Linked DNA regions of Homo sapiens: regions 1, 3, 4, 5, 6 and 7 are each linked to region 2. The links are contacts of gene promoters, found by promoter capture Hi-C in blood cells and fetal thymus (Javierre and others, 2016). All regions are on one chromosome and are shown on one strand. The core of a region is centred on a gene start or on the middle of the fragment in contact, and the rest is flanking DNA. Distances in the headings are between cores, read along the strand shown. Region 1 overlaps ZNF583 (zinc finger protein 583). Region 2 holds the start of LINC01530 (long intergenic non-protein coding RNA 1530). Region 3 overlaps ZNF582 (zinc finger protein 582). Region 4 holds the start of ZSCAN5C (zinc finger and SCAN domain containing 5C). Region 5 overlaps ZSCAN5A-AS1 (ZSCAN5A antisense RNA 1). Region 6 overlaps ZSCAN5A (zinc finger and SCAN domain containing 5A). Region 7 holds the start of ZNF444 (zinc finger protein 444).

The links. The method cuts DNA at HindIII sites, captures the fragments that hold promoters and counts their contacts. A CHiCAGO score of 5 or more calls a contact.
Region 1: a contact is called between a fragment that was not itself captured here and the fragment with the promoter of LINC01530 in region 2, in 2 of 17 cell types (total CD4 T cells and non-activated CD4 T cells). The highest score is 8.1, in total CD4 T cells.
Region 3: a contact is called between a fragment that was not itself captured here and the fragment with the promoter of LINC01530 in region 2, in 3 of 17 cell types (non-activated CD4 T cells, total CD4 T cells and activated CD4 T cells). The highest score is 9.6, in non-activated CD4 T cells.
Region 4: a contact is called between the fragment with the promoter of ZSCAN5C here and the fragment with the promoter of LINC01530 in region 2, in 2 of 17 cell types (activated CD4 T cells and total CD4 T cells). The highest score is 5.6, in activated CD4 T cells.
Region 5: a fragment that was not itself captured here is called in contact with the fragment with the promoter of LINC01530 in region 2 in 1 of 17 cell types (total CD4 T cells); the score reaches 5.9 in total CD4 T cells.
Region 6: a contact is called between a fragment that was not itself captured here and the fragment with the promoter of LINC01530 in region 2, in 4 of 17 cell types (total CD4 T cells, non-activated CD4 T cells, naive CD8 T cells and 1 more). The highest score is 8.6, in total CD4 T cells.
Region 7: a contact is called between the fragment with the promoter of ZNF444 here and the fragment with the promoter of LINC01530 in region 2, in 5 of 17 cell types (total CD8 T cells, activated CD4 T cells, total CD4 T cells and 2 more). The highest score is 11.4, in total CD8 T cells.

What each region holds. Positions count from the first base shown.
Region 1 is chr19:56,407,692-56,411,365 of GRCh38, reverse strand. The region is part of intron 2 of ZNF583 (zinc finger protein 583); the gene reads right to left. Among named protein-coding and RNA genes, the nearest start is that of ZNF583, 5.2 kb to the right of the region's middle. The HindIII fragment of the contact is 4,293 bases long and covers 1-3,674 here.
Region 2 is chr19:51,592,972-51,596,391 of GRCh38, reverse strand. It overlaps LINC01530 (long intergenic non-protein coding RNA 1530), which reads left to right and starts at 2,012. Exons shown (of 2, transcript NR_034159.1): 1 at 2,012-2,443; 2 at 3,341-3,420. RefSeq lists a silencer at 1,095-1,262 and enhancers at 1,345-1,394, 1,605-1,914, 1,661-2,296, 2,297-2,932, 2,933-3,420. The HindIII fragment of the contact is 8,842 bases long and covers 878-3,420 here.
Region 3 is chr19:56,386,236-56,389,683 of GRCh38, reverse strand. All of the region lies in intron 4 of ZNF582 (zinc finger protein 582), which reads left to right. It also overlaps the pseudogene SLC25A36P1. Among named protein-coding and RNA genes, the nearest start is that of ZNF582, 5.6 kb to the left of the region's middle. The HindIII fragment of the contact is 1,923 bases long and covers 407-2,329 here.
Region 4 is chr19:56,200,974-56,204,582 of GRCh38, reverse strand. It overlaps ZSCAN5C (zinc finger and SCAN domain containing 5C), which reads right to left and starts at 2,310. Exons shown (of 5, transcript NM_001358413.3): 1 at 2,261-2,310. The HindIII fragment of the contact is 5,550 bases long and covers 1-2,702 here.
Region 5 is chr19:56,327,511-56,330,778 of GRCh38, reverse strand. All of the region lies in intron 1 of ZSCAN5A-AS1 (ZSCAN5A antisense RNA 1), which reads right to left. It also overlaps a transcript of ZSCAN5A not described here. Among named protein-coding and RNA genes, the nearest start is that of ZSCAN5A, 14 kb to the right of the region's middle. The HindIII fragment of the contact is 8,424 bases long and covers 1-3,268 here.
Region 6 is chr19:56,305,354-56,308,992 of GRCh38, reverse strand. The region is part of intron 2 of ZSCAN5A (zinc finger and SCAN domain containing 5A); the gene reads left to right. All of the region lies in intron 14 of EDDM13 (epididymal protein 13), which reads right to left. It overlaps LOC124900420, which reads right to left. Exons shown (of 5, transcript XM_047439799.1): 5 at 1-3,639. The coding sequence starts at 2,752. The coding sequence ends at 1,634. Among named protein-coding and RNA genes, the nearest start is that of ZSCAN5A-AS1, 7.5 kb to the left of the region's middle. The HindIII fragment of the contact is 6,781 bases long and covers 1-3,639 here.
Region 7 is chr19:56,139,749-56,143,486 of GRCh38, reverse strand. It overlaps ZNF444 (zinc finger protein 444), which reads right to left and starts at 2,200. Exons shown (of 5, transcript NM_018337.4): 1 at 2,130-2,200. RefSeq lists enhancers at 2,238-2,377, 2,408-2,737. The HindIII fragment of the contact is 17,292 bases long and covers 1-3,738 here.

The DNA of each region.
Region 1 (3,674 bases), core at 496-2,995, 4.8 Mb before region 2:
ACTTAAAATATACTTTCCAGTATTTCTACCCTCAGTGATTTCCCCCCACTCCTTTGTTTTAATTTTATTTTTTGGGAGACCGGATCTTGCTCTGTCGCCAAGGCTGGAGTACAGTGTCACAATCATGGCTGATTGCAGTCTCAACCTGTCAGGCTTGAATGATCCTCCCAACCTCAGCCTCTCAAGCAGCTGGGACCACAGGCACTCATCACCAGGCACAGGTAATTTTTTTTTTTTTTTTGGTACAGATGATGTCTCACTATGTTGCCCAGGCTGGTCTCAAACTCCTGGGCTGAAGGGATCCTCCTGCCTGGGCCTCCCAAAGTGCTAGGATGCTGGGATTGATTACAGGGGTGAGCCACCTCACCCAGCCAATTTTTTCCCTTTTTAAGTTAAAGAATTGGAAGTCTTTCACCCCCATGCCTACTCCCATGTCACCCTACCTCCTAAAAGCAATTATAATTTATAGTTAGTATAATCTGCTCAAACGGTTCCTTATACTAATGTCTATGATTATGTATATATTTCACTTACTGATAATGTCACTTTTATTGGCTGAGTACTATTATACAGTATAATTATGCCCTATCTTATTTACTAACCCCCATGCTTATTTTCAGTTGGGTAAATCTTAATTTTTGTTGTTGTTGCTGTTTGTGTTTTTGACATGGAGTCTTGCTCTGTCGCCCAGGCTGGAGAGCAGTGGTGCGATCTTGGCTCACAGCAACCTCCACCTCCCATGTTCAAGCAATTCTCCTGCCTCAGCTTCCCAAGTAGCTGGGATTACAGGGGCCCACCACCACGCTCAGCTAATTTTTTTGTATTTTTAGTAGAGATGGGGTTTCACCATGTTGGCCAGGCTGGTCTTGAACTCCCGACCTCAGATGATCCACCCACCTCGGCCCCCCAAAGTGCTGGGATTACAGGCGTGAGCCACCACACCCAGCTGGATAAATCTTAATGTTTTACTATGATGTTGCATAGGTCTTGAATTATTTTCTTAAAATCGATTCACAGACGTCATTCTCTCCATTGAGACCAGGATTTCACAAAATTACTTAACCTCAAAAAAATTTTTAATTACACTATTTTGACCCAGCAACGATACGGTCAAATTGTTTTTGAATTGAAAAAACAATTCAGGGTGGGAGTAAAGTGTTGGCTTGCACTCGAAGACATACTCGAAGAGTTCTTCAGGTATTAGTAATACAGAAGGAAAATGGAAGCATGAAAACACAGGAAGAAATTAAGAGTTCTAAAGCAGTAATTACAAATAGAGCAATAAGAATATTGTGGAGTTAAATCACCATAGGCATCTTATCCTGTTCAGGAAGTGATAAGGGTACTAATCATAGGAGGAAGATTACAGAAGAAAGAAGGATTACTACATATGAGTAATGGATGAATATTATCTTAGAAAAGCCACTAAAAGAACAATAAAAATTATGTATAATTACTAAAATAATAAGGAAAAATACCTGACTTAACCAAAAAAAAGCAAAAAAGGAGAAACAAAGGAAAAAAGAACAGATGGGATAAATGGAAAACAAACAGAAACACAGTAGCTTTAAGCACGTACGTATAAGTATTACATTAAATATGTAATAAACACTAAAAGATTAAGATTATCAGGCTAGCTTTTTTAAAACTAGCCAGTTATATGCTGCTTACAAGAGGCATACTTTAAATATAATCTTTAAAGGCAGAGGTTCTCAAAAACCATGCATTAAAATCATCCTGGATACCTGTAACCCAGCTACTTGGCTACTTGGGAGGCTGAGGCAGGAAGACAGCTGGAGGCCAGAAGTTCAAAACCAGCCTGGGCAAAATAGTGAGACCCCATCTCAAAAAAAGATAATCATCATCCTGGGAAACCCAATAAAAATGTGTTTTCTTAGGTGCCACCAAGAGACCATGATTCAGGAGGTCTGGGGTGGGGTCCTGGAAACAGCATTTGGGCTAATGGGTTCCACCTATTCTACACATCATACTTTCAGCTTTTTCTTTCTTCTGTTACCAAATCAGTAGCAGGAAAGAAGAGGTGGCTAACTCTAGCTATCCTGGTCTCACTCACAGATAAGGAATTCATCTGAATGCCTATTACCAACCAGGCACTATTCTAAGAGTCAGGAATACAAAGGTGAACAAAACAAAGTTCCTCCTCTTAATATTCTAACAAAGGAGAAAAACATTAAACATAAGGTCATACATGTCAGGTAGTGACATATGCCACAAAAAACAAAAGAAGGTAAAGGGTGATTAAGAGTGATAGGCTGTTTATTGTAGATAATATAGTCAAGGTAAGTCTAAATGAAGAGGTAAGGTTTGAACAACAATCTAAATGAAATGGGGGAGCAAGCTATGTCAACATGTAGGGGGATGGGGGGGCAAATGCAAAAGTCCAGAGACAAGAAAAAGCACAGTAAGTCTGAGGGACAGCAAATTCACAACTGTGATTAAAATGAAGAGAGGTAAATACTTGTAGAAAATGAGGTCTAGGAAAGCCAGGACCTGAAGCACAAAGGGCCTTATAGGCCATGGTTAGGACACTGGATTTCATTCCAAGTAAGATAGGAAGGCAATGAAGGTTCTGGGCATGGGAGTGAAATAATGAGCCCCATCACAGACTCGCTACAGTGTCCCTCATCATTTTCTACCACCCTTTTCATATCATCACTCATCATCATCGACATTACTGACCCTCAATTTTTATTACAACTTCTTACATCTGACTCAGTCACTAACTGGTTACGTGGACATGTCACTTTCTTCCCCTGGCCTCTTTTTCTTCATCTGTAGAATGAGAAACTTGGACAAGATCACCCATAATTATCTTCCTGGCTTTACTGTTTTATAAGCCTAAGACTGTGCTGTCTAATACACTAGCTACTAGCTACATACGGCTAAATTTAAATCAATTAACATGAAAAATTCAGTTTCTCAGTCATGCTAGTATATACAAGTCTTTGTAGCCACATCTGGCTAGTGGCTACTATGTTAAACACTGCAGATATAGAACATTTCTATTGTCAATCATCACAGAAAGTTCTATTGGACAGTGCTGTACTAGTTGATTTCTGCATCTGCCTCACCTTACTCTTTCTCCATTTTCCATATTTTAACCTAGAGGTGTGTGTGTGTATATATATATATTTAACCTATACAATGCATTTAACCTCTATGTATTTTTCTCTAAGTGCAGAGAATTTTTTTTACTAGATGAATAATCCATCCCTTTCCCACTGATTTAAAATAATATCAGTACATCATATAATAAACTAGTATACATTAAATTCTATGAAGACAAAGACAGGGCCTATTTATCACAGCACTTGGCACAAGGTGTTTATTTTTATTTATTTTTATTTATCACAGCAATTAGCACAAGGCCTTTAATAACTATATGTTCAGTGAATGAAGATTTCCATTCTTATGGAATTCTTATACTTGGATTTGTTTCTTAACATTGTATGTTTCTTCTGGCTCCATTCCACACTATCAACTGTTTTCATTATTATAGACATATACAGCTTTTATTTTAATGCAGATTCAAGTGCTCTCCCATTAGTCTTTTCCAAAACAAAGTTCTGCTATTTTTTACATATTAATTCCACTAATCTTAACTGGATGACCTAGAATAACATAGCTGTGGACACTCAGAATGTCCCTAAAAT
Region 2 (3,420 bases), core at 763-3,262:
CTGCCCATCACCCCTCTTCTCATTCTGTTTGTGGGTGACTCTGAATCGCAATGTCCACCAGCCTGGCCCTCCAAATGCCCCACGGAAGATCCCATCTAGGCCTCTCATATCTCAGTGCCCAACTGACCAGCTCTCACACCCCAAGGCAGAAACTTACCTAACCAAGCTCCCCGTCTCCCGGAAGCAACACCACCTTTCACCCAGCTTCTCTATGGAAGACAACTCAGCTTTTTCAACCTCTGAATCTGCAGTCACCTAGTACTGGGGTTCACTTCCTGAGGTCCTTATCAGATCCAGTTGCATCCCTGTTTTAGTTACCTACTCACCTCAGCCAGATGAACTTCCCATTGGTTTTTCAACCCCTTGCATCTTTGGCCAGGCTGATCTCATTGCGCAAGACACTTCCCTAAACACTGTGGTAGACCTAACTCTTACCTTCAAGTCTCAGCTCAAACTTTCATTCATTCATTTAACAAATACCCACTGAGTGCCGCCTATGTACCCAGCATGCTCTAGGTACTGGGACACAGCAGTGAGCAAGATAGGAAAGGTTGCAGCTGTCAGGGCACTGATGTTCTAATGGAGGAACCAGGCCATGGATAAGGAAGTAAATGACTAAGATGCTTTCCAAATACGAGGGAATTATCTTTGGTGGTATGACTGGGGGGGGGGGAACAGGGAGGGGGTTCTTTAGGGTGGCTGGAGGCCTTTGAGCTGAGGCCAACAAAATGAGTAGACAGATATTGGGTCAGGGTGGGAAGAATGCTCCAAATTGAGTTAATAGCAAATGCAAAGGACATGAAGGGCAGGGCCTGGCTGTGTTCAGCCCATTGGAAAGTGTGTTGTGACTGAGGACGACCAGAAAGGACCAGAAGCTTAGAGGTTGGCAGGATAAGGAGCTTGGATTTTATTCTGAGATGGGAACCACTGGATGATTTTAAGCTGGGGGGCAGGGTAGTGACTGGTGACAGGATCTGATTTATATTTCCACAGGCTTCCTGGCACTGTGCCTGAATAGAGGGTGGAGTGTGGCAAGGGAAGAAACAGAACAGTGAGGAGGCCCCTGCAGTGATGCAGGTGAGGAGTAACGGTAGCTCGGAGCAGAATGGAGACAGTGGAAGTGGAGAGAAGTGGTTAGATTCTGGGCCTCTTCTGGAGATAGAGACGATGAGACTCACACAAGATTTGGTTGCGGGAGGGAAGCGGATGAGAGAAACAGAACACTGGCGACCATTCCAAGATTTTGGCTTGAGCACTTGGATGGACAGTTAGTGGGGAGGAGGCAGAAAGATTGTGAGAGGAGCAGGTTTAGGACAGGGAATCTGGGATTTCGTTTGGATGTGGTAGATTTGAGGTCCTTTGCTCTGTAAGGTCTTTCCTGAACCCTGGGCTGGGTCTAGCACCTCCTCTGTGTTCCCACAGCCTCCTGAGCACCCCCTGGGCCAGCCCTGACCACTCTGTGTTGTAACCAGGACAGAGGAGGGTGCACTCGCACTGCACCCAGGTTGAAGGGCGAGAGTGAGAAGGTGTCAGGCTGGGCCGCAGAATCCAAAGCGGGTCAGCAGGTACAACAGCTGCTTAGAGCACTCCCACCCGGAGAGAGGGATTGAGAGATCACGGAAAAGGGTGCCATCTTTCCAGGGACGCCTACCAGAACGCGGGGGAGAGAAATACAGAGACCCTCAACTCCGCCACGTCATCGCGACAAAGGGCCAGGACCGGCCGGCCGCGGGATGGGCGCTCACCTGGGCAGAACTGGAGCTGGAAGGGCCAACCTCCAAAGAAACGAGGAGCGGGCGGAAGGACTACGACTCCCGGAAGGCTTTGGGCCCATCCGCCTACGACTCCCAGGTGCCCCTGCGTTGCGTCGTCCCGAAACACTTGCGGCTCTCGGACAAACTGGGCCTACAGTTCCCAGAGATCCTCGCGGCAGCGCTGCGCATTCTGCGCACGCCTCCCAGAGTGTACTAGGCCGGTCCGGCCCGCTTCCCGTCTGCGCCTGCGCAAGCACAATAGCCGTGCCAGAATTCTCTGCCAGCTGCTGTGCACTGCTGTCAGTGCAAAGATGGGATGGACTTTTTTTTCAGATTTTCTGCTGTTGTGGGAGTATGGCAAGAGTTTGAGGGGGCGGAGAAAGAGATTGGGAATGTGAAAAGGGAAGATAGCACCTGCGCTAAGCACATTCCTAGGATTGGGCCGCGTCTCGGGGATGCAGAGTGGGCTCTTCGGCGCGCCCTGCAGCCATGGGAGTGGACGCCTGCCCAGGCCGAAGGGCAAGGACTTGCGGGGTGGGGTCTCTGTGCATGCGCGGAGCTGAAAGGGAGCGTTTTGCAGATCTCCACGCGTGCGCAACTCTCGGGACGTGGACGCGGTGAACAGTTACGCACAATCGTCTTTCTGACACAAACACACCCTGCCAGGTGGAAGCCAGGATGGAGGGCAGGTGAGACCCGTAAGGCAAGATCCCAAAACCAAGGAACGGAGCACTCTCCCCGCTTGCTCCCCAGATCCAAGCCCTCCACTTCCTTCCAATGCCCCCCTTCCCGAAACTGCTCCCTCCTGTATATTCTGAGATCTTATCACTATTCCCGTGAGGCCCTTGATAAGGAGGATTGAGAGTGAAGGGTGATGGGAGACACGCCTTGGGCGTCTTCTGTCCACCTCAAGGATTGAACTTTGGTAACTGGAACTCATTCATTTGTTAATCTGTGTGCTAGGCCCTTTGACCCGCTGGCCAGATGCACCGGGACACAGGTGTATTCAGCCTGGTCCAGAGATAAGGATGATAAATCTTAATGTAAAGGTATCAGATGTTAAGGGCTGCAGGAGCCCAGAGGTTACAAGTGCTGCAAGCCAGAACATGGGGAAACAACAGCAATTAAGCCGTTAGCTTGTGCCTTGGAGGGGTGTTTGCCCTGCACCCCACTCACTACCTGAAGATAAATGGCTTCTCCAACGTGTAGTGGGGTTGGGATGATGAGGATGACATCACTGCCAGGTGGGAGGCAGGAGCTGCAGGTCCTGACATGATGAGGCAGGTATGGGCCGCCCTGGGCTGAGGGGGACATGGGCTACCCTGGACTGGAGGGCTGGGCTGTGGCATGGGGACCCTGTCAGAGACAGGTGTTTGGCCTCCATGCCTTCCTGTGTCTCTGGAAGGGTGAAACTAAGCGGGATGCTCCTCTCCCAGCCCCACCTGCTTTTCAGAGGCTACCATATGCTGGAGGGGGAAGATCCTGGCCACAAGCAGAGGCCCTGGAGGTGAATCAGTGTTGGAAGTGGGGTGGTTGGTTCTGGGTCCTCCCTGAGGCTCACATGGCTGCCCCTCCCCATCCTCCAGGCCTCGCCTTCTGTCCCGGATCCGCCAATCCTCCGATCCCTGGATCCTCTGATGATGGCATCAACTGTCTGGGCTACAGG
Region 3 (3,448 bases), core at 119-2,618, 4.8 Mb before region 2:
TTTAAAATTTTTTTTAACTTCAGGAGTATAAGTGCAGGTTTGTTAAATAGGTAAACTTGTGTCATGGGGGTTTGTTTACAGATTATTTCATCACCCAGGTATTAAGCCTAGTACTCATTAGTTACTGTTCCTGATTCTCTCCCTCCGCCCAACCTTCCATTCTCTGAAAGGCCCATGTGTGTTGTCCCGCTCTGTGTGTCCATGTGTCCTCATTTAGCTCCCACTTATAAGTGAGAACATGCAGTATTTGGTTTTCCGTTCCTGTGTTAGTTTGCTTAGGATAATGGCTTCCAGCTCCATCCATGTCCCTGCAAAGGACATGATCTTGTCCTTTGACCATTTTTCTAAAGGAATTTGTATCGGTTTGTTTGAATTCTGGAGTCAGTTAACAAGTACTTATTAAGCTTTTATTATGCACCATGGAATATGCCACAGTATACATTGATGAGGCAGGTGGACATTATCCTTGCTTTCATGGAACTTACACTGCAGTGGGAAAATAGACATGAAATCATACACACTGGACATGAGCTAATATGTGAAAGAAAAAGAACAGGTTCAGTCAGGGTGCATGGTAGGGCCAATGGCCTCTTCAAGGATAAGGCATTTCAGCTGAGACATGGAAGGTGTGATGTAGCTGGGGAATACCAGTTGTAGCCAATGAGTGTGAAGGACCTGAGCAGGGAGCCCTTGGTACCTCTGAGATAATGGATGGCCCTTGTGGCTGAGGTCAGTGAGCAAAGGGAGGAACACAGAGATACACTAGGGGCCGGGCATGGTGGCTCATGCTTATAATCCCAGCACTTTGGGAGGCTGAGGCGGCCAAATCACTTGACCAGTCTGGCCAACATGGTGAAACCTCGTCCCGACTAAAATCACAAAAATTAGCCGGGTGTGGTGGCACGTGCCTATAATCCCAGCTACTTGGGAGGCTGAAGCAGGAGAATCGCTTGAACACGGGAGGCGGAGATTGCAGTGATCCGAGATCGAACCACTGCGCTCCAGCTGGGGCAACAGAGAGAGACTCTGTCTCAAAAAGAAAAAAAAAGATACGCTAGGAAAGGCAACCACGTTATGAAGTTTGGGTTCTGCACTGTGGGCAGAGGGAAAGCACTGTAGAAATAGAGGCAAGCCATGATTTTATGGTCCACCTGGAGAGGATATAAATATTGTGCTTCTCACAAATTATTCACCTGCTAGTTTCAGAAGTCATTGATAGTTTTCTCTTGGATCAGATATGATTAATAGTTACAAAATAGTGATTTTTAAAAAAACTTTATTCTTATTTATTAGATCACATACTCCTGTAAAGAAGAGCTTTCTCCCTTTCACCATTTGTTTCTTCATTTATATCATATGGATTAATAGTAGGTGGCATATTTTTTCTCATTTCCAGGTCAGAATAAAATAAATCTTGTTTTATCCTGTAACAGATTATTACCCATTATCATTATTTATCACAACGTTCATAGTTTTCCAGACTTGCCCAGTGACACCCTTTCAAACTGGCTCCTGGGTTCTTTGGACATAATCCCCCCCCCCTTTTTTTATAAGCACGTTTTTAACTTTTTTAGTTTCAACAATTCAGTAAAAGCTAGTTAACATAAATACAGAAGAAGTCCACACAATTGACATCCGTGTACATAAATGCAAGAATGCCAAACCTCACATGAACCAAAAAGTATCAGCTCTTACAATGTTGACTATTTAGCTATGACTAGTAGGTCATAAATCTTCGCATAAGCAAGGGTACACATTCAAATGTTTTTTAAAACTAAGAATAAAACAATTTTATGTTTCTAAAAGGAGAAGCATAAAAGTCAATCTGTCGAAGAACATAAGGATGTGATAGAAAAGAGATTTGCGTGGGCACAAAGTTAATACACTGTGTTAATACTTTTACATATTAAAATCCCTCTGCAGCCAGGCGTAATAACTCATGCCTGTAGTCCCAGCTACTCAGAAGGCTGACAGAGGAGAATCACCTGAGCCTAGGAGTTTGAGGTTGTAGTATAATATGATTGTGCCTCTGCACTCCAGCCTGGGCAACAGAATGAGACCCCATCTCCCCTGCAAAAAAGAAAGAGAAAGAGAAATACTTTGGAGGCAAACTTTATATAGAACGTTTGTATATAGTTTTTTTTTAAGTCATCAGTGTCATACTTAAACTAAAATGCAGATTGTGTTTTTGTCTCCAAACTGATTGTAATACTTTTGAGTCCAATCAAAACACCTCAGAAACATCCAGTTACTGTTGATTACAATAAATGTGACATGCTGACAGAATTTAAGAAGGTACAGTTTTTCACTGGTGAGAGCAGTAAAAGCTTGGTAATTTTCAATAATGTTGGGATCACTACAGTGAATAGATCTGCAGAACAACATATCTAAAACCCAGACAAATGTTAGGAATACTGGTTCTGTTGAATAAATGACCAATGTTTTTATAGAAATACGTAACATAGAATTCCCTCCTGCTCTTTCACCCTCAATAAATGCTATAAAGTGCATTCACAAAGAGCCATATTAAGATAAAGCTACTGCACAAAATACAGCACTCATATATACTGAAATGAGTAGTATCACACTGGAGTTTAATTGTGCACATTTTATATACCAGTATAGCAACATCCTTAGCCAGAAGTCTCAACAGAATTATCATGAACATAAACGTTTAAGGGTTATATACATATATCAATTTAAAGTATGAAAAGGTGCATTTGAACTTCATGGCAACATTTAAAAATGATATCCTTGTTAGCACATCACCTTGAATCTATGATGTATGATTCAGCAAATTAGGACAGAATCAAATTCTCAGCAAAAAGTACTTTGAGGCTGGGGATGGTGGCTCACGCCTGTAATCCCAGCACTTTGGGAGGCCAAGGCAGGCGGATTGCTTGAGCCCAGGAGTTTGAGACCAGCCTGGGCAATATGGCGAAACCCCATCTTTACAAAAAAGCACAAAAATTAGCTGAGCATGGTGGTGCCCACCTGTAGTCAAGCTATATCTGAGTCTCTTTAAGTCAACTGGGGTTGGTTGCTATAAGTACAGTAAAACCTGCCACTGTAGCTGAAATAATGTACCAGGTAGAATCACAGTCCATTATAGCATTCAGCTTTTTCATGCAGTTTGAATAATCAGCAAAGTATGTTGCTCTAGAAGGACCCACCCTCAATCAACTGGCCTAATCCTCTAAACAAGGAAAAAAGCCCTTCTTTTTCCAAGGTCACCTTTAAGAAATGAAAAGGTTCAGGTAAATGCATGACATTTAAGAAATTTAAGAAATGTCATTCAGTTGATAATGGGCTTCAGCCATGGCGTTCAACTAAACTTCAGATATAAAAAACACCATGGTGTTCAGCTAAACTTCAGATATAAAAAGCTTCACAGAGGAAGACAGCAGCCATGTCATTCTAACTTCTAGCGGACACATGAGAATAGCTG
Region 4 (3,609 bases), core at 1,061-3,560, 4.6 Mb before region 2:
CAACTCAAACTCCTCCAGAGCGAGAAAACAACCCACTAGAGGGGCTTAAGGCGCCCGTGTGGACATCTCAGATGAAGACATGTGAATGGCCAGCAGGTCTAGGAAAAGGTGCTCGTCATCACTCATCATCAGGGACATGCAAATCCAAACCACAAGGCACCCCTCACGCCTGCTAGAGTGGCTGTTCCCAAAAAGACACATGGAACGAGTGTTGGTGAGGATTCGGGGGAAAGGGGTCCTCTGCGCCCTGTGCTGGGATGTAAATTAGAGCAGCCGATATGGGAGACAGTATAGAAGCTCCTCAGAAAATTGAAAGTCCAACAACTGCATGAGCCGGCAATCCCGCTCTGGGGCAGGTACACAGAGGAAAGGAAATCAGGACGTGGACTCCAAAACAGTGAAACTCTGGAGGGATAGAGGGAGGGAGGGTTGAAAAACTACCTATTGGTTGCTATCCTCACATCCTGGGTGATGGGTAGAGTCATACCTCAAACCTCAGCATCACTCAATATACTCATGTAACACATCTGCACAGGTACACCCCAAATTTAAAATAAAACTTGAAATTATAAAATAGTTTTTAAAATAAAAGAAGTAGGTAATGTAAACAATAATTAAAAACCTAGTGGACTCAGGCTGAGTGTGGTGGCTCACGCCTGTAATCCCAGCACGTTGGACGGCTGAGATGGGCGGATCACCTGAGGTCGGGAGTTCAAGACCAGCCTGACCAACATGGAGAAACCCCGTCTGTACTAAAAATACAAAATTAGCCAGGCTTGGTGGCACATGCCTGTAATCCCAGCTACTTGGGAAGCTGAGGCAGGAGAATCACTTCAACCCGGGAGCCAGAGGTTGTGGTGAACAGAGATCGCGCCATTGCACTCCAGCCTGGGCAACAAGAGCAAAACTCTGTCACCAAAAAAAAAAAAAAAAAAAAAAAAATTCCCAGTAGACTCATAGTAGCAGTGAGTAGAATGGTGGTTAACAGGGCTATGGTGAGGGTTGGGGAGATATAGGTTTAAGGGTATGAATTTCAGTTGAAGAGATCAGTTCAAGAGAGCAATTGTCCAACATGGTGACTTCAGTTCATAACAATGTATTGTATAATTGGAAATTGCTTAAAGAGTAGACTTTAAGCATCCTCATGACCAAAAATGATTAGTCCATAAAGTAAGGCATGTGAATATCAGCTCAATTTACCCATTTTACATTGTTTCTATCCTGCAAAGCACATTATGCTGTACACCATAAATACGTATCTTTCTTGTTTTTCAATTTAAAAGTAAATTTTTTTTTTTGAAAAAGCATATGGATATGAGAGAGAAAAGGCAGCCTGAAATTCTGGAATTAAAAATGATTTTGCCACAGGGCACCTGCTGCTGCTCAGGAGGCTGAGGAGGGAGGATCCCTCGAGCCCAGGAGTTTGACAACCACCTGGGCAACATAGTGAGAGCCTGTCTCTAAAAAAAGGGGTTCATGTTCCTAGAAACCACTTTGTATTCGCTGTCAGTTCATTTCCCATTAAAACAAGCAATGGGACATGGGAAAAAATAAAGGCAGGTACGCGGGTTAGTATTCAATTCTGGGAGTATACAGCACACAGGACCCCCAGGTAGGGACACTTAGTGCAGATTCTCATTGGCCTAGTAGGTTGATGCCCATTCATCAATGGCTGATTTTACCCTGTGGAAAGGGAGAATCCAGCGATGCTTTTTAACAAGTGGTGTGTGGCCAGCAAGGTGGCTCACACCTGTAATTCCAACAGTTTGGAAGACCAAGATGGGAGCATGCTTGATCCCAGGAGTTCAGGACCAGCCTGGGCAATGTACTGAGACCCCATCTGTACAAAAAAAATTAAACATTTATTCAGGCATGGTGGCAAGTGCCTGTAGTTCCTGCTACTTGGGAAGCAGAGGCAGGCGGATCGTTTGAGTCCGGGAATTCCAGTCTAGTCTGGGCAATGAGAGAGATCTCATCTCTAAAAAATAAAATGTAGCCTAACCACGATGAGAAAGTTAATATTATTCCTATTTTAAGGGAGAGTTATATAACAAGTCAGAATAAATAATAGGGTGCAAAGCAGACCCACTGCCTTCACAAGGTGTCCGGGCAAATGCATGAAAAAATAAACCCAAATCTTTCTGAAACCAACACCCCAACCCAAATCTTTCTGAAACCAACCCCTCAATCCAAATCTTTCTGAAACCAACCCCTGCAGGCCAACTCCAAAACCCCACAGACATCCCCAGTGGACACTTACCTCCTTCCTGACTTCTGCCTCCAGCCTCCTCTCTTCTAGGATGTGCTCTCCAACTGCTCTGGAGCTGAACTGTCTATTTATAGAGAACCCCCGGGACTCCAGGCCTCTCTTCCAGTCCCCTGGGCCCCCACATGATTGGTTTAGGGCCATAGAATCCATTGAAGGTGATTAGCATTGATTACATTTCTCAATGAAACCCCACCCACAGGAAATTAATGTATTAAACATGCCTACCATGCAAATAACATAGGTTTTCCCGCTCTACTGAATTACATTTCATATTTCTGAAGTATTTGGAGGCTTCAGGGACTATAGATCTGCAAGTTTTAACCACTTTGCGTCCCCTCATGGCACAGACAGTAATATCCTAATGAGTAAAGGACATGTTAAGAGTTGGTTGAATAATATCAAACCAGTGATTTGCTCTAGTTTAAGGAAAGCTTTCACATGTGAATGTCAAGATATTGAAAAAAAAAGGGACAGTCATTGTTGATACATAATGAGTAGTAGTGATAATTTTTCACTTTTCAAAATCTGGGAATTGACATGGGAAAGCTGTGCTTGAACTAGGCTAAATCACTGCTTTGATATCAGCCAACCTACTCTTAGGTAAAAACAGTGGGAACCAGAGGAAGGCACATGGTCCCCACTCTGCATTCACTTTAGGATGATGGGAGGTGGTTTATAGACATACTGAGTGCTCCCTAGTTCTCAACCCCCTCAGTTAGGCCTCTCAAGCAAGAAAAGCCTTAATGGTGGTATGAATTTTACTGTGTGGATCATGGAGACCATGTGGAATGACAATTAAGTGCACTTTATACTGATTCTGGTTTCAATCCTTAGGAAATCTTAACCCACTGAATTCTGGAAACTTCAAACTCCCTGTGACTAGAACCAGGGAATTATTACCTTCCTGACATGTTGTTTTGAAGATTAAATAAGATTATGTTGGCCGGAAGTGGTGGCTCCCGCCTATAATCCCAGCACTTTGGGAGGCTGAGGCGGGTGGATCACAAGGTCAGGAGTTTGAGACCAGCCTGACCAACATGGAGAAACCCCATCTCTACTAAAAATACAAAATTAGCCAGGCGTGGTGGCGCATGCCTGTAATCCCAGTTACTCGGGAGGCTCAGGCAGGAGAATCACTTGAACCCGGGAGGCGGAGGTTACAGTGAGCTGAGATCATGCCATTGCACTCCAGCCTGGACAACAAGAGCAAAACTCCATCTCAAAAAGCAAACAAACAAAAAACCAGATTATGTCAGTAAAGTGCCCGATACAAGGTCATTTTGCCAAAAAGTTCTGACACTTATTTTCTGATGCATTTTCTCATACTCTGTGATGTTTTT
Region 5 (3,268 bases), core at 300-2,799, 4.7 Mb before region 2:
CCACCTATAGAATGGGAGAAAATATTCAAAAACTGCATCAAAAAAGGTCTAATATTCAGAATCAACATAAAAAGTAAACAACTAAACAAGCAAAAATAAAGTAACCCCCTTAAAAGTAGGCAAAAGATGTAAACAGACACTTGTCAAAAGAAAACAAGCAGCCAACAAACATGAATAAATGCTTAACTTTACTAGTCGTCAGAGAAATGAAAGTCAAAACCACAATAATGAGATGCCATCTTACACCAGTCAAAATGACTATTATTAAAAAGTAAAAAAAACAAGAGATGCTGGCAAGGCTACTGAGAAAAGGGAATGCTTATACACTGTGGTGGGAATGTAAATTAGTTCAGCCACTATGAAAAGCAGTTTGGAGATTTTTCAAAGAACTTAAAACAGAACTATCCTTTGACCCAGCAATTCATTACTGGTTTTATATCCAAAAGAAAATAAATTTTTGTACCAAAAAGACACATGCACCCATATGTTCATTGCAGCGCTATTCACAAAAGCAAAGATGTGAAATCAACATAGCTGCCCATTATTAGTGGATTGGATAAAGAAAATGTGGTACATATACACCATGGAATACTATGCAGTCATAAAACGGAACAAAATCTTGTGCTTTGCAGTGACATCGATGCAGGTAGAAACCATTATCCTAAGTGAATTAACACAGGAACAGAAAACCAAACACTGCATGTTCTCACTTATAAGTGGAAGTTAAACACTGAGCACACATGGACATAAAGATGGGAACAGTAGACACTGGGGAGTACCAGAGGGGAGAAGCAAGACAAGAGGCAAGGGCTGAAAAACTATTGGGTACTGTGCTTTCTATCTGAGTGACAGGATCAATCATCAAACCTCAGCATCATGCAACATACCTAAGTAACACACCTACTCATGTATTCCATGAACCTAAAGTGGAAATTAGTTTTGAAATAAAAATTTTTTAAAAATAAAAACATTCATTGTTGGGATAAATAAACTACCCAGATTACAATGGTGATACACAAAGAACAAAATAAGATATTTGACCTACCAAGATGTGAGAAAGTAAATTATCATGAAAAACTTTTTTTTTATGTTTTTTAAATTGTATTGACTATTTCAAGGAATATTTAGATGTTGACTTTCTCTATTTTTCTATTTTCAATTTCAATAATTTCTACTCCAATTATTATTATTATTTCTTCTGCTTGCTTTGGGATTAGAGTACAGAATACAGTACTTTTTCTAGTTTCCTAAGGTATAAACATAGACTATTGAATATAGAATTATCTTCTTTACTGATATACTTAATACTATAACTCTCCTATTTCCCTCTTAGCATTTCTTTTGCTTCATCCTACAAATCTGGTAAGTTGTAACTTCATTTTTATTTAGTTCAACTTTTGTTTGTTTGTTTGTTTTTGTTTTTGTTTTCTGAGACAGAGCCTGGCTCTGTCACCCAGGCTGGAGTACAGTGACACGATCTCGGCTCACTGCAACTTCTGCCTCCCAGATTCAACTGATTCTCGTGCCTCAGCCTCTTAAGTAGCTGTGTTTACAGGCATATGGCACCACGCCCAGCTAATTTTTGTATTTTTAGTAGAGGCGGGGTTTCGCCATGTTAGCCAGGTTGGTCTCATACTTCTGGCCTCAACTGATCCATCCACCTTGGCCTCCCTAAATGCTGGGATTACAGGTATGAGCCACCATGCCCAGCCAAGGTCAAATTATTTTTAAAATTTCTGTTACATTTCTTTTATTTATTTATTTATTTATTTTTTTTTTTTTTTGAGACGGAGTCTCGCTCTGTCGCCCAGGCTGGAGTGCAGTGGCGCCATCTCGGCTCACTGCAAGCTCCGCCTCCTGGGTTCACGCCATTCTCCTGCCTCAGCCTCCCCAGCAGCTGGGACTACAGATGCCCGCCACCATGCCCAGCTAATTTTTTTTTTTTGTATTTTTAGTAGAGATGGGGTTTCACCGTGGTCTCGATCTCCTGACCTCATGATCCACCTGCCTCGGCCTCCCAAAGTGCTGGGATTACAGGCATGAGCCACCGCGCCTGGCCATATTTCTTCTTTGACCCACATTTGGTTTATGTGATTATCTTCTTTACCATATTTTACCCATTTTTTGGAACAATTTTTTTTTTTTGAGTCAGAGTCATGCTCTGTAGCCCAGGCTGGAGTGCAATGGTGTGATTTCAGCTCACTGCAATCCTCGGTTCAAGTGATTCTCCTGCCTAAGCCTCCTAAGTAGCTGGGATTACAGGTGCGCACCACCATGCCCAGCTAATTTTTGTATTTAGTAGAGATGGGGTTTCACCATGTTGGTCAGGCTGGTCTCAAACTCCTGACTTCGTGATCCACCTGCCTAGGCCTCCCAAAGTGCTGGGATCACAGGCATGAGCCACTGCGCCTGGCCACAAATATGTTTTTTTAATGTCATAAAACTAAAATTATTTTATAATAAAATAGTAAAATTTTTAAAACAGGAAGTTTGCATTCTGTGACAGCATTTTTCTTTATAATTGTATCTTTGGAAGTATTCAATATGTTGAAAAAACAACTTGCAACATACATGTCAGTTATAAAACATAGTAAAATGATGAACTACCAAAAACATCCCCATCCACCTAAGGAGTAAACACTGATCACTTCTCCTGTCCATCCATGCTTCTCTCTTTCTCCCTTCACTGTGCTACTCCCATACATGACCACTACCATAAATGTTGAGTTTATTATTAAGCTACTTCTAACTATGTGGATATACTTCATAATATAAATGTATGTAAGGTTTATAATGTATATGTATCAAAATATGTACTAATGTGAATATATCATGTATACTATCATATTTTGATATATATGAATTATCTATACTACACATATTCATTTACATGGGAAATATATACACGTATGGATACTTATGTAATACTACATATAACACACAACTATGCATATGTAATACATGAACTACAGTGCATATGTATCGCATGTGTATGTAAATACACATGTAAAAACAAAATAGATTACATATATTAGTAGATGTGTAAAATTGAATATATACATAAATTTATGTATTGTATAGTATTTGTATAGAATACATAAAATACATTTATACCTAGATAGTATAAGATATGCATGCACTTATATTGTAAAATATGCATTTTGGGATGTAAAATTATATATCATACATATAAGATATTTGTATATATTTAATGTCATTTAATATAATGTGCATATTTATATTCAATATGTGTATGACTTATATGGTA
Region 6 (3,639 bases), core at 330-2,829, 4.7 Mb before region 2:
ACCATATGACCTGAAAAGCCAACACGTAATATTTGGCCCTTCACAGAGAAAGTTTGCCAACCTCTTGCCTAATGGGTTGAAAGCACACCTTTATATGAAAATAACTATCTGGTTTGACCGGTGCTTTAATGTATGGTTGAAGAGAGCCTGAGAAACCGTTCAACACCATTCATTTCCTTCAGCATCCTCCCCAGTGGAATCTGAAGGATTGCTGTTGGTTCCTGAACCAAAGCATTGCTTAGGTGAATCTTGAGGACTGAGGAGGACTTTTCTAGGTAGACAGAGATCAAGGAATCAATGTGTGCAATGGCATAATGGAGCGGGAAAAAAAATGTGATGTTTTGGGGGGAATCAGAAATGATTTAATATGGGGGGGCGTGGTGGCTCATGCCTGTAATCCCAGCACTTTGGGAGGCCGAGGTGGGTGGGTCACCTGAGGTCAGGAGTTCGAGACCAGCCTGGACAACATGGTGAAACTTCATCTCTACTAAAAATACAAAAATTAGCCAGGTGTGGTGGTGCATGCCTGTAATCCCAGCTACTTGGGAGTCTGAGGCAGGAGAATCGTTTGAACCTGGGAGGCAGAGGTTGCAGTGAGCTGAGATTGGGCCACTGTTCTCCAGCCTGGGTGACAGAGTGAGCCTCCATCTCAAAAAAAAAAGACTGGGAGCCACCGCTCACGCCTGTAATCCCAGCACTTTGGGAGGCCGAGGCGGGCGGATCACAAGGTCAAGAGATCGAGACCATCCTGGCCAACATGGTGAAACCCCGTCTCTACTAAAAGTACAAAACTTAGCTGGGCGTGGTGGCACTCGCCTGTAGTCCCAGCTACTTGGGAGGCTGAGGCAGGAGAATTGCTTGAACCCGGGAGGCGGAGGTTGCAGTGAGCCAAGATTGCGCCACTGCGCTCCAGCCTGGCGACAGAGCGAGACCCTGTCTCAAAAAAAAAGGTTTAATATGGACAGGGGATGGAATGTGGGTGGGGGGATCAAGAGAAGTGGAGAAAAGTTTAGAGAAGCAGGAGGAGCTTGGAGCCTGAGAACCCTTGGGTACCATGCCAGAGACCTGAACTTGATCAATGGGGCAGAGGCTTCCTGCCAGGTTCCCTGAAAACTTGGGATCTTTTAGGAATTCCACAAAGGTTTGCTTTGATTTTCATTTCAAAAATTAAACTATTTTTTAAAATAGGTGTGTACCCAAAATATAGCACATGGACTGAAATTTTTATTCACTGGAGAGCCACACCAACCTGTTGCATGTTTTACATACAGACCTTGGGGAAAAAATTGTATTACCTGAAGGGCATGTACACTTCACAAGGCAAACTATTAGGCATTTGCAGTGACTTATCTCTGTGGGCTCAGATTTTTCTCCGTATGAACAATTAAAAGGAAACACTGCAAGATACGGGGTAAAAGAGAGTAACGTAAGACAGCAGAGGCCTTCTGTACCCTGTGCTTGCAAATCTCATCACCTCACTTCATAATAAGTAAATGTCACACAGTTAACCTTAGGAAAAGTACCTCTGGTAATGAAAAGCAACTTAGAATTTTTTATATATTGGGATTCCATGTAAGATTTCAGTAGAAAAGTGTTTTGGATTTTCTTTCTTTTAAAGTTTGAAAGACACTCATCATAGTTGGTGAGTTTCCACTGGTGGATTTAAGCAGGACTGCAGCAGGGGGTGGGGGTATATCGTATGATCGAGTTGACATTTTTTAATGTAAAAAGGGCACTGGGGATGCCAGGGAGAGGATGAAAGGCAGGCGACGTGGGAGAGGCCAGGGAGGAGCCTCTTTGTAGCTATCAAGGGAAGAGAAATCTCCCATCTGTCCTTAGTACTTTCTCTGGCGACGTGGGAGAGGCCAGGGAGGAGCCTCTTTGTAGCTATCAAGGGAAGAGAAATCTCCCATCTGTCCTTAGTACTTTCTCTGGCAACAGGGGAGAGGCCGGGGGGGACCCTCTTTGCAGATACCGAGGGAAGAGAAGTCTCCCATCTGTCCTTAGTACTTTCTCTGGCGACGTGGGAGAGGCCAGGGAGGAGCCTCTTTGTAGCTATCAAGGGAAGAGAAGTCTCCCATCTGTCCTTAGTACTTTCTCTGGCGACGTGGGAGAGGCCAGGGAGGAGCCTCTTTGTAGCTATCAAGGGAAGAGAAATCTCCCATCTGTCCTTAGTACTTTCTCTGGCGACGTGGGAGAAGCCAGGGAGGAGCCTCTTTGTAGCTATCAAGGGAAGAGAAATCTCCCATCTGTCCTTAGTACTTTCTCTGGCAACAGGGGAGAGGCCGGGGGGGACCCTCTTTGCAGATACCGAGGGAAGAGAAGTCTCCCATCTGTCCTTAGTACTTTCTCTGGCGACGTGGGAGAGGCCAGGGAGGAGCCTCTTTGTAGCTATCAAGGGAAGAGAAATCTCCCATCTGTCCTTAGTACTTTCTCTGGCGACGTGGGAGAAGCCAGGGAGGAGCCTCTTTGTAGCTATCAAGGGAAGAGAAATCTCCCATCTGTCCTTAGTACTTTCTCTGGCAACAGGGGAGAGGCCGGGGGGGACCCTCTTTGCAGATACCGAGGGAAGAGAAGTCTCCCATCTGTCCTTAGTACTTTCTCTGGCGACGTGGGAGAGGCCAGGGAGGAGCCTCTTTGTAGCTATCAAGGGAAGAGAAATCTCCCATCTGTCCTTAGTACTTTCTCTGGCGATGCGGGAGAGGCCAGGGGGACCCTCTTTGCAGCTATCGAGGGAAGAGAAACCTCCCATCTGTCTTTCGTACTTTCTCTCCGTACCCTGGACCCTAGCCTTGACCAGGCTACCGTCATCTCGTGGAAACTGAGTAGCCTCTTAACTGGCCTCTACACTTCATGTCACTGGGACGTGTCTCTTTCTCACTGACAGCCTTTCCGTGGCTTCCCATGGCTCTGAAGGTTGGGTCTAAAATGCTTGCTCTAATCTTCCAGGTCTGAGGTGGTCTGCTGAGCATGTCACCCACACTCCTCCCATAGTGCCCTCCCACTCCCTCCCCCTTCTCCTGCCCCCATTTTTCTTTCTGACTCCAGGCACATCTAGGCCACTTTCCACCCCAGGGCCTTCGTACAAGCCAGTTCCTTCACCTGGAGGCTCTTTCACTTGTTTTCTGTGTATCTGACAACCCCTCATTCTACAGGCCTTTGATTCATTGTCACTTTCCTAAAGAGGCTTTCCTTCATCACCCAACTATCCAGGGCAAGGTTCTTTAGTTCTCTTTTTCATCATATCCTCAGCTTTTCCTCTAGCTCTAAGTATCACCTGTAATCATCTAATTGTTTTCTTGTGAGCTCAGGAATCTTGTCTGCCCCGTTCACTACTGCATCCAGGATGCATCAGTGGGTCGTTATAAACACAGAATTATCATATGACCTAGCAATTCCACTCCTAGTTTGTACCCCAAAAGATTTTAAAACAGATATTCTAACATAACTTGTTCATAGCACCACGACTCACAACAGTCAAAAGGTGGGAGCAACCCAGTGCACTTTACCTGATGATGGATAAACAAAGTGTGCTATGTCCATGCCGTGGAGTGTTATCCAGCAGAAACGAATACAGTCCTGATACAAGGTATACCATGATGAACCTTGGAAATATTATGCCAAATGAATAAACCCAGA
Region 7 (3,738 bases), core at 951-3,450, 4.5 Mb before region 2:
AACCTGGGAGCAGGCAGAAAGACTTATCGGAAGACCCAGGCCAGATCCAAGTCTCAAAAGCCACACAGATGCCTGCTCTGCTATAAAAAAGATCCCTCTGGGACTAAGGAGGAATTTCCGCCAGAGAGCAATGCCACAGGCCATCAAGCTGACCCTGTTTGCAATCTCAGAGGTGATCACAGGTCACTACACCCTGGGCTGTCCAGAAAGTGAGCTCTCTGGGGCAGTGACCAAGTCCAGCTCTTCACTGGGTCGGTGGGGCCATCCAGCACAAGGCCTGCTCCCAAGAAAGCACATGCTGTTAAGTAAGGGCCTTCCACCATGTCAATCCACCCTACCATCCAATGAGCGCCCTGTGCTATGTGCATTCAACAGCTGTAACCCTGCTGTCTAGCTGTCTGTGTCCGCAAAGCACAGTCCAGTCCAGAGCCAGGCACCCTGGATGCCTTGAAGACAGCCACTGAGTGGCTAGTGTCTTATACTGCCCCACCCAACCTTCCCAACAGACCTGTGAGCTGGGGAGATGGGTCCCCTCTTACCATAGGGAGATGCTCAGAGAGTGAAGGAGCCACAAATGGGACCCAGATGTGACTCCAGAGTCCACACCAGTTCCACCTAGTACCCCGGCACCAGCACCCACATATGCTGGGTTAATATCATGGCTAAGAGGCTGTGGAGTCTGGCTGCCTGGCTTCAACTTCCAGCTCTGCCACTCATCAGCAGTGTGACTGTGGACGTGTGACTTACCCCCTCTGTGCTTCATTTCTCCACCTGAGACACAGGACTAACAAGAGCTCCTTCCTCTCAAGAGGCTGCTGGGAGCAGGAGTTAGAAGCAGCCTCCAAAGGCTAAGTGCTCGACAAAGACCGGTTTGTCTACTCTAGGTTCCCAACCTCGACATTAATGGCACTTGTGTCGTGGCGGGCTATCCTGTGCAACATACGATGTCTACCAGCATCTCTGCCTCTTTTCATGAGATGCCAGTAGCACTTCCCAAGTTGGAAAAACCAAAAAAAAAGTCTCCAGACATTGCCACATGTCCCCTGGGGGACAAAACCACTCCTGGTTGAGAGCCGCTGGCCCACTGGACAAATATTTACCTACGGCACAAAGGCTCTGGGGCAAATTCCAGCTCTGCCTCCTACCAGCTCTGTGTCCTTGGACGAGGTACAAGGCACCTTTTGTAATACCCTGTATCTCCATTTCGTTGACTGTAAAGTGATAGAAGGAGAACAAAAATGCTGAGAACCACACCTGGCTAGTAAGTGTCCAGTCAGACTTAGGGTTACTTTGTCGAAGTTTCCCTGCGAGGTGCCCAGGGGACACTGCTATGAACACGCACGCAGATTAAAATACTAAGTATACATTGGAATAGGCGTTAAAATCGGATATAGAGGAGGGTGACTCCATCCTGACTGGGGTAGAGGTGGCGGGGGTCAACTTCATTTGACAATAAACAGAGTTTCTAAGCACTTTACACATATTACCGAAGGTAATAATGCCTTGCAACAAGCTAAAAAGGCAGATGCTCCGCACTGAGAAAGCAGCAAAACAGAGCAACGATTCTTATCTTCAGGAATCTCACAACTCTGTAAAAGTTGCACTTGTAGAAGCAGCGCGCAAAACGAGCCACCTGCGCCGTATCTACGTTACAACAATAACCATCGTCCCCGGAAGCCCCTTCCCGCAAACCTTTCCGAAGGGGTCCGGTCCCGGCGCCCCCAGACTCCTTTGTAGGGTCCAGCTTCCCACTCAGCTTTCATCTCACAGCCCACCCTCTGCTAGGGTCCCCTTCCCCTCCCCCACCTGTCCCTCCCCCGTCCCGCCCCTCCCCCTCCCCCAGGCGCCCCTCCCCCGTCCTCTCCCTCAGCATTTCTCTCCCGCGTTCAGGACCTCGAGGATCCACGACCCCCTCCCACTATCCACCCCTCCCCCTCTCCAAGTCCCTCCCCCTCTAGTTCCCTCTCCCAGCCCCTTCCCCATCACTCAGCCCCCTTCTCCTCCCCTCCCCGCAAGTCTCCCATCTTTCCCTCCTGAGGCCCCCGGCGCCCCTCTTCCCATCCAACCTCTGGTCCCTCCCTCGTCCAACCGCCCCCACCCAATCCCTCCCTCCTTCCCCCCTCGCTCACCTCACTCTCTCAGGCGAGGCCCCCCAAGCCCCCTCACCTCCCCGCACATGCGCACAAAGCTCGCCGGGACTCCATGCCCCAGCAGGCTTTGCGCCAAACTCCCCCGTCCCCCTCCCCCAATCCCATACTCCGAGCCGCTCGTTCAGCCCAACAACTCCCCATGAAGCCCCGGCCTCACCCCGAACTACAACTCCCAGGAAGCATCGCGGCAAAGGCGGCTGCCAATTGGCCCTCGCCTGGGGACCGCCTTACTCCTGTTTGTCACCGCGTGGCGTCTTCGCCAACACTGGAACTACATTTCCCAAGATACGCGAAAGCGTCGTCTGCAGCCTATTTGGCCTTGACGGCGCAAATGTCGCGGGCTGTCTGAGCGCGACAGGCTTTGGACTACATTTCCCAGAATGCACGAGGAGGCTTCCCAGTGGTCTGCGCGCGGGCCCTGGACATGCGCAGAAGTGCCGGGAAAAAAAGAGGGAGGAGGAGGAGGAGCCATGGCGGCGTTGTTGTGGAGATCAGGGGAGGCCGGGCACCGCCGGGCATTTGGGAGGTGGGGCCTCCGGAGCTCTAGAAGCTGGCAAGCGAAGAGGAGGAGGAGGAGGAGACCAGGCTAGAGTTCTGCGCCAATCAGGAGTGCAGGCTACGTCTCCTTGACTACGGATCGCATTTTTTTTTGTCCTCCCTCTCCACCCGGGCAGAACTTAAGGGCCGATGTCGGTGCCAGGAATCAGGACGTGAGCAGGCTGCCCTCCTGTTCCGGGGTGGGCAGTGGCTCAGGAGGGGGCCAGCGCGGGGGCCTCGGTTTGGCTCTTCCTGTGTGTGAACCTGGACAGGACACCGCCCTCTCTTTAGCCTCAGTTTCCCCTGGGGTGAATTGGGGGACAGCGCTACCTGCCACGCGTCCTCGCTGTGCCCCTATTGGACAGACTACTGCCCCGTCCTGAGGCCTCAGTTTCTGCATCTCAGAACTGTGAAGAAGCATATTTGGATTTTAGAGCAGACAGACATCCTAAGAGATCAGCTGAAGTTTTTATCTAGACAGTTCCAGACCTGATTATGGCTCATACAAGCCCTACCCCAGCCCGCAGCGTATTTCCTCCTCCGTACAACAAGGATAAGAGAATCCCCCTCCCATCCTCCACCTCCCCGGCTGATCTGAAGACTCCGCGCCATAAAAACGAAGACAGTGGCTTACCCATAACAAGCATTCATTACATGGAAGTTGTTCGTCTTATATTCATAAATGAACAACTTTCCCCAGGTTTCACAAGCGATGAGTGGCTGACTCAGAACTTTGTGACCAGTTTGCCCACGGTGGCCTAATCTGCCCTGGCCCACCTGTCTACCACTGTCTTCTCCTCGTGTTTAATGAGTTCCAGTCATGCCTCCTTTCTGCTCCTAGAGCACGCTGATCTTCTTCCCACTCATATCCGATGGCCTACTTGACATCTCCTCTTGGATTTCTTAATAGGCATCTCAAACCTAAGGTGGGCAGTAGATAATTTTTCACTCTCTCCCCCACCTTGCGAAGAAATTTGTTCCTTCCCATTACTCCACCATCTTAGAAAGCAAGTCCATCTTCACCCAAATGTTGAGGCCAAAAATAGAAAAG